Regions from separate parts of the Homo sapiens genome. Here region 2 is linked to region 1. Evidence: promoter capture Hi-C in human tissues and cell types (Jung and others, 2019). All regions are on one chromosome and are shown on one strand. Each heading gives the region's core, a stretch centred on a gene start or on the middle of the fragment in contact. The rest is flanking DNA. Distances are from core to core; before and after follow the strand shown.

The links. Contacts are between HindIII fragments. The study calls those that stand out against the background at their distance.
Region 2: a fragment that was not itself captured here is called in contact with the fragment with the promoter of FRAS1 in region 1 in 2 of the 25 tissues and cell types used here (H1 embryonic stem cells and thymus).

The regions. Positions count from the first base shown.
Region 1 is chr4:78,056,023-78,060,009 of GRCh38, reverse strand. FRAS1 (Fraser extracellular matrix complex subunit 1) reads right to left here and starts at 2,687. Exons shown (of 74, transcript NM_025074.7): 1 at 1,925-2,687. The coding sequence starts at 2,000. RefSeq lists an enhancer at 3,130-3,987. The HindIII fragment of the contact is 7,312 bases long and covers 1-3,987 here.
Region 2 is chr4:78,173,900-78,178,386 of GRCh38, reverse strand. All of the region lies in intron 2 of FRAS1 (Fraser extracellular matrix complex subunit 1), which reads right to left. Among named protein-coding and RNA genes, the nearest start is that of SNORD161, 110 kb to the left of the region's middle. The HindIII fragment of the contact is 5,977 bases long and covers 79-4,487 here.

The DNA.
Region 1 (3,987 bases), core at 1,438-3,937:
AATCCAATTTGTGAAACAGCTATAGAATGCTCTGACAGTAAAGTCAAACAATAAGAAGCAAAGTTTCCAAAGACTCTTTGGAGTAATATCCACACCCTCTCTCCGCCCCCGCCCCCGCCCCCCGTCTCTACCCCCAGCTTTCTGTGCTTCACATCCCCCCATCCCCACCTCCCAGTCTAGATTCCGCACTTCTTAAACTTGGCCCACTGGATCAAGCAATCTGCCAAAGAGCGCACCCTGCAGGCTCTTAATAATAATGCCTTTTGTTGATTTCAGAGTTTTGGTTCCGACAAGCTGCACCATTCCAACTGCCCCCTGGTGAGCTATCCGGGAGTGATAGCACGTTTCCTGCGTTGCTGGGATAGGACTCTAAATTTTAAAAACTGCCACCAAGTGAAATTAATTTTTCTAAGTACCAAGTTCAGGTTTGGGTGGCCTGGGGTGACTCTCTCATCTGGTTTATTGTTATAATCAAGCCCTACAAGCTTTTTTTTTTTTTTTCCAAAGTACGCGCCCACACGCACATAAACAATAAAGTTATATTTCTACAGGACTTGCACTGTTGGGAGAAGGCTGCACAGGCCCCAGATGTGCCTTTCGCGGAGATTATACACACTTGACACACATCCCGGAAGAGTGCAGAAGGCAGCACCTGGACCCACGGGAAAGTCCCCCACCCTTGTGCGTGGATTCCCAAGGCCTTTCTCTTGGGAAGCCAGCAAAGAAAAGGCAGCTGCTCCAGTGACTGGAGGTCGACCCGAGGCAGAGCTTTGTCCTCCCCGGGCCTCCCGCAGCCCCCAGTCCTGCGCCAGAGCTCGACTCCCGGGAGCCGCCCCGCGCCCCTTCCTAGGCACCAGGGCGGAGAAGGCGGCCCGCCCTGCGCCCGCCGCCGCCGCCCAGCCGCGGCTCTGGTTTGCGGCTGGGCAGGTGAACTCTTCTTCCCGCAGCTGGATGAATAATGAATGGAGCCGGGAGGGGAAGCCGAGAGCCAGGCGCTGTGGATTAAGCCGTCTTCCTCCCAGCCCGCCGGCTCCCTTCCCCCTCCCTAAGCACTGGCGGGGCGACTTCCCTGGCTCCTCGGAGCAGGAGGGAGCTCACAGCGCCTCGCGTCCCCAGGCCCGGCATCCCATGACCCCAAACTCTTGATTTACTTATTGACTCATTTATTTGGCTGAGCCCGGATTGCATTTGATATCATGGCGACAACTAGTCTCACGGCTTCCTTTTCTCTCCTGCGGCTCCGGGGTTTTACAGGTAGCTTGGAGCCTCGGAGGAAAACCAGGAGGCGGAGGGTGAAGTAAAAGAATGAACCTAAACTCTTATTAACCACTTTTGTTCTGGGAAGCAGGCTGGTTCGTGCTTCTCCGTACTGGAGAGATTTCTTTCAGTGCAACTGAACTGCCCACGACCAGAACACGCTCCAACCAGTTAGTTATAAAATCCTAACTGGACTTTAGGGGGAGACTAACTGAGGTAAGGAGGGCGGGAGAGCGATGGGGCTTTAAGATGAAAGACTGTATGTTTCTTAGGAACAGAAGTATTTTTAAACAGGTAAGAGCAATTGTTCGCTCCTCACCTGTGCTCCATGCAGTTGCTTTCCCTTCGGGGAAAGGTAGGTGGTGGAAAGAAAAAGGATCAGTTTCAGAGATGTCACCTCCATCGGCCACCCACCCACCCAAAAGCACTTAGGGCAGAGAGGGAGGCCGTTTCGGGGGTGTAATCCGAATACAAAACAATCAGGAGTAGGAATCTTATCAGAAAAAGCCTATTCCAGTTTCACTTCCACCTCACCCTTCCCAGAAAAACTTCCACCTCACCGAAATACCATAAAACCTGCTGAGATTTTTAAACTGCACGATCACTCACACATACACACACACACGCACACGCACACACACACACACACGCGGCACCGCTCTCTCACCTTCGGAATGATGAGGCAATACTGCAAATTCCGCCAACGCTAGGGCCAGCCCGAGCCACACTTTGAGGACACCCATCGCCGCCTCGGCACCCACGATGGAGGAGCCCAGCCTTCAGCATCCAAGAAGCGGCTCCGCCAAAACGCTGGCTCCGGCGCTTGGAACCCGGGCGCACTGAAGGTGGGGGACCGCGGGCCTTTACCTCCGGGAAAAAGAGATGGACGGGCGGAGAGCGACACTCATCAGCCCGGAGGCGCCGGAGCGGGCTGGGGTTCAATTCACTCGCTGCTCAGGCAGAGAGCGCGCCGAGTTCCCCCGCAAGGCAGGACGCCAACGTGAGCTTTGGGAGAATAAGAGGAGGCAGAGCACAGTTCTCCGCGTCAAAATCTCGCCGGAAAGTTGCTGGTCACTGGCCGATGGGATCTTCCAGCATTTCCCTCGGGCTAGACCCTTCCGATCCCGGGTCCCCGACAGTGGAAATCCTGGCTCTGGTTTGTCCGAAGCAGCTTTTTAAAGTTCGCTTGGCACCATACGTCGGCGTTGCGTCGGCACCGCGGGTCGCCGGGAGCCCCGAAAGACCCACCCACACCCACTCCTTGGTCGAGCCACCCGGCTCGGCAGACCTCATCTGCCGGGGTCCGCTCGCTGGAAACTGTGCAGCGCTGAGGGCAGCTCCGGGGACTCGCCCGCCCTGCAGCCGCACCGCACCACACCGCCTCAGGCTGCGCTCCCTGAAGCAGACTGTTCGGAAGCTTCAGAGGAAAGACTGGGGGGCGCTGCTGCTACTTTCTCGTCCCCGCCCCTCGCCTGGGTGAGGAGGGCTGCGGGGACGCGGCTTGCTGCACACCAACACCCACCTCCGCGCTGAACACCCCGGAGGAGGTCTGCAGGGTAGAGGTGCAATGATTACGGGAGTGGAAGAAGAGCCATAATTTTAATTGCACGGAGGAAAAAGCTAGCGAGGCTGGAAAAGACCCCCAAACTCAAGGCCACTCTGGCGAGAGAGCCTGGAAACGCCCAAAATACGCCGGGTCTGGACCCCGTGTTTAAAGGACACACGTTCAGCCTTCCTCTAGTCTCCCTTGCCTCCTTCCTCTCTGCTTTGCTCGGTGTGAAAATGGACCCAGAGACTCGGAGCTTTGGCGAAATTCCAGAGAGTCACGTGGGGAAAGGGAGAAGCGAGGAGGGAGGTGAGGGGAGGCCGGGAGAGCAACCTGATCCCTTTATTCATTCTGCTGGAGTTCAGATTGGCTTTGTCTGGGGAGGAATCAAAAGTGCTCATACCGGGGACGGAGGGGGTGGAGATAGGTTGCACAGTTCTTGCTCAGGCACACCGGAAGGCAGATGAACCGTGTCCACATCCCTTGTTAGGGGAGGAACCGATTCGGCGGGCTGGGGGAGCGTGTGCCCACATCAAAGGCCCTGGGGCTACCTCCCACCCCCACAGCCCGCCACTCCTGCTGAACTAAGTGCGTCCGGGGGACCTGATTGATCCTTCTTCCTCGCTCTGGGACCCTCAGGCTGTTGCATCCTGGCTTTTACCAGCAGCCCGGGAAGATCTTGGTGTGTGTGTCCTAGGCGGAGCCTGAGAGCAAATGCACCTTTCCCTTTCCCTAGGAGACTCTGTCAGTGGAACACAACGCGGTCTGGGAGCTGTGGGTCCAGCTGCGCCCCCAGATGCCAATGGCTGGGAAAGTAACATCAGGACACGGCCGACTGGGGCGCGCACTTGAAGAGCAGAGGCCTTGATTCCCCGCCAGGACTGACTGACGGCAGCTATTTTTATAGGACCGAATAAAAATAGCTGGTCCACGTTTAATCGTTTTATAAGGGAACAGTTGCATCAGAGAGATGCTGACTGGGTTCTGATTGGCCCAGAGAAGAAACGTCTCGGGTCCCTCAATTGAGTCGGGATGGGCGAAACTGTTGGAGGGGAAGCAGTTGCATGAGCTGTGCTGGCGGGGGTCCCACTTGTTTCCAGTCTTCACGAACACCATGACGCGGGCCCACGTTCTAACGTGCACTGACGCCACTTGGAACAATTCACTTTTCCGAATAACTGGAA
Region 2 (4,487 bases), core at 1,818-4,317, 120 kb before region 1:
GAAAAAGGACTGAAAACTACGAAGCCTAGAATGTCATGGAATCTTGGACCTGGAATAGAACATCCCACTTATTCTCCTACTTAGAGCAGAAATCCCTTTTAAGGTGCCTGCAGTAATCATTCTTTCGATAAAAATGCCAATCATTGGGTAAAGTGCCTCTACCCAATGACTGGTATCTTTATTTTTTTAAAAAAAGGAGAGAACACACATACACATAGAAAGAAAAACAGCCACAAGAAGACAGAGACAGAGATTAAAGTGATGCTGCCACAAGCCTAGGAGGCCAGGAGCTGCCTGAAGCTGGAAGAGGCGAGGAAGGAATCTCCCTTAGAGCTTTGGGAGGGAGCATGGCCTTGACAACACCTTGATTTCAGACTGTGGCCTCCAGAGACAGAAAAAATTTCTTTGAGAGAATAACTTTCTAATTTTTTTAAGTCACCCAGTTTGCGGAAATTTGCTATGGCAGCCCAGGAAACTAATACAAATCCTAAGAGGTTAGGTATCATTACTGCCATTGTACTGACACAGAAACTGAGGATCAACAGCGTTCAGTAACTTCCAGGAAGTAATACACAGTGTTCAATCCAATCCGTATGTAAGGGGAGGGAAGGTAAAAGGTGGTGAGGCACCTGAAAGGAAGAAGGTGTATGAGATAGAGGCAGGGCTGCAATTTTCAGCCTTAGTGTTGATGGTGATGAACCAGGAGTTACAGGTGCTGGAAGCATAATCTCAAGTAGAGCTGGCAGACCCGCCTTCCCTACGGCCACCCCTGCCAGCAGTGATTCAGGACCCAGAGACTCCCAACTGACCTCACCCAGAGATGGCTGTTTATTTTGCTTTAACTCAATGAGAGAACAATTTTAACAATGAAACTGAACAGGTACAACAAGAGAATGCTAACCATAGACCAATGTCCCCAACCACTTGTCTCAGCAGCTCATGAGTTGCCCATGGCCATACTCCACCATTAAGGTTCCACTATGGACCAAGGCAGTGTTTATTTCCTCCTTCCATAAACATTGAGGTATTTCAAAAATACCATTTAGAATAACATAAAGAATACCTATGTACTACCATTTAGCTTTCATAATTTTTAACACTTAAGTATAATTATTTGTTTCTCAACTATATTTCAAGCCATGTCCCCCTCTTCTGGTGAATATAAAACATTTCCAGGAGGCTGAGGCAGGAGAATGGCATGAACCCAGGAGGCGGAGCTTGCAGTGAGCCGAGATAGCGCCACTGCACTCCAGCCTGGGCAACAGAGCAAGACTCTGTCTCAAAAAAAAAAAAAAAAAACTCACATCACTCTCTCTCTCCCTCCCATTGAGGTTCTAACGCACTCCCACTATGGAGGTGTGTAACCTGCCTATTGGCAATTGTTGGGACAGACATAATGAATTTTGGTTTCAGCAATACAAGACAAAGGTCCCTGTGATGTTTTGATGGGACAGATAAGATGACCAAAGCCAAGAGTAGGTTGAATGGTAGTACCCATTGATGTGAGTTAGCTAATTGGTCTCAACCTAAAGAAGGCTCTTTCTTGACATGCTACAAGGCCCCTTCCTTGTTTCTTTCCTATTAACATTTTTACCAACAACTTGTATGAAAACTTAGAAGTATGTGAGTTAAACTTCTACTCAACACATTCCATTCTATCTTGTATTGCATAAGTGTTTACATTCCTCTCCCCAGCCACACTGTAAGCTTCATAGGTGTGCCTGCCTGGAGCCTTGCCAATAGCTGTGGGCTCAAAAAATGTTGGTTGAATTAAATTGTACTTATGAGGACAGGTTGCAGAAACTGGGAATGTTTCGCCTGGAAATGAGAAGGTGTCAGGGAGAAATGATGGCTGTCTTCACATATTTGAAGGATGATGAGATTTAAGCAATGTAGCTCTTCAGGGAAAAATCAGAACAACTGGTGAAAGGAACAGTGAGTTGATTTCTGCCCAGTGTAAGGAAACTCTTTATAACATTTACACCTGATGGCAATGGGAATGGGTGGAATTGCGAGTCCTCATACTCACAATGGGAGGGGCGCAATGATTACTGCAGGCACTTTAAAAGGGATTTCTGCTCTAAGTAGGAGAACAAATGGGATGCTGTATTCCAAGTCCAAGATTCTATGACATTCTAGCCTTCCTAGTTTTCAGTCCTTTTTCTTAAATTGCCAATTTGCATAGATGTTGATACATGAAGTAATGCTATCTCACATATAATAGGAAGCTAACTGCAAAAGAAAAATTACTTCATTTCTGAACCAGGGTATAACCAACTACAGGTATTATTACCCTTAATTTCGTGGGCATCAACATAAAAATTCCCCTGATAGTCAAAGTAGTATTTGACATTCAATTCACTAATGTCTGAGCAACTGAGATCTTAATCCAATTGATTTGCAAAATGGCACTCACCAAGAGACGGCAACCTAGTGTCTCTTAGGGATGTAATGGTGTCACATGCTTGAGAGCCCTTGTGCTGGACATTTCCATCTACCCATGCTCTCAGCCAAGGCATGCTGGCCTGCATGGACCACGTCAGCAGGCTTCCAGAAGGATTTGGCCAAAGAGGAGGACTGGCAGAAGATCAGAGGGAGGGTGGAAAGGGTGGCCATTTCCTTCCTGCCTCCCTTCCTACTGTGCATCATGATCTGGCCAGGTCTCTCATCTGAAGCCACAATTCCTGTAAGATGACCCTCTCCACAGAGCTGGCTCTGCTTCCAGGTTCCCAGAAATGCTCTTCTTCCTTTCCCTTTCAGATGTAGAATTAATATTGGCTCCCTGCTGTAACTACCCCTAGGATATTGCACTATTCCTGTGGTTTCCCTATACAATGCCCTGCCCTCACCTCTGAAAAGAGTCCCCTTATTGAACTCTCCTCAAATCACCCAGTTCAGGTCTGTAGACCTTCCTGCTGGAGCATTAGCTGACACAGCCAGACCAGAGTCAAGGCCAATAAACTGAGGGTGCATTCAATGGCAGAGTAAGTGTGTCCCTCCTTACCGGGGCACACAGATGGGAGATGTTGCCACCCAGAGAAACTCCTGGGAGTCTCTCCAGTAGTGCTGGTCTGACCAAGAAAAGAACAGTAAAAGCAATTAGACAGTAACAGGAGATCACAGTCAATTCATTAGAAAATGTGTTAATTAATGGGAGCCAGAAGTATAAATACTGAAAGAGCCCAAATGTAAATCTTGCTCCCCGCCCCAACAAAAAGTAGCCTCCAGGCGATGGGATAAGAAGCCAGGAGCCTGATGGGCAGTGTCCGGATGGGGCCGGTGGAGAGCAGCCAGCCTGCATTTGCAGGAAGTAGCAAAGGCTGATTTCACCCACTTCATCTTTCTGCCTAGAACCAAGCCTGCTGAGATGCAATAATGAAAATCTTCACAGCACATTACTGAATACAGTAATGCCTTTCTGCCTCAATAATACCGCAGCCTGTGCATGAATGTAATGCATTATTCTGATGCTGCTAGAAGAAAATTCAGTGATTTACATTTAGGGTTTATGTTTTGTTTCCAAATGAAAACATTCATCCCAACAACTATTCCTACACAGGTATTCCCAAAGCAAATGGCTCAAGATTTAGACTGTGTTCTGTTGCCTAAGACTTCTGACCTAATTCAGCTTCCCATCTTACCAGATTTTTAAAAGCCTGGTTAAAGATTTATAATCCTGTCATTTTATCCCCAGGACAAATTATATTCCAGGTGACTTTAATGCATGAAGATGACCAGTGCTAGTCAGCCAAATACTTGGCTTATCTTAATTGTTAGACAGTTGGTATGCTCAGCATTTTTGAGAGAGCTGAGTGAGTGCACCCCTTCTATCTTTTCCCTCCCTTCCATACTGGTTATATCCCAGGTAGATAACTATGCCTGGTTACAGGAAAACAAAGGATCTTGTAGAGCGGGATGGGAGTTTGGAGCTTGTATTTGCACTGCCATCATTGGTAGGAAGTGTTACATCTCATTATCTTCTTCTCAGACACATAATCCTCTTGTATATTCAAATGGCATTCAAGTCTTCATTAAGCAGGTTCCATGATCCTACCAAATATGGAAGAGATCCATGGACATAGGTATGTTTGCCAAGCGCTAAATTAATAGTAAGGTTTTTTATGTGACCTAAGTGGACTGTGATTTCTTGTAGTCAAGAACATGAGCCAACACATTTCCAAGTTAAAGCAGTAAACACAGCAAAATTTAATTTACAGAGAGCTCCTGGGAAACATGAGGCTCATTCAGAGAGTCAAAGCATCAGAGACTGGTCCTAAAAATAAAAGAAGCTGCTATTCTGATCTCCCGGATTCAGCTGTGTGTTCAGTTGAAACACGGGAGACAGAGGAGACACCAAGGGACGTGGCAATCAAGAGTTAGTCACGTAGCACCCAGTTACACCATCTGTACAGTGAAGCTGAATGCACACAGTAACTGATGATAAGCATTAGTAAGAAATATTAAGCACCTTGAGAATAACAGTGTAA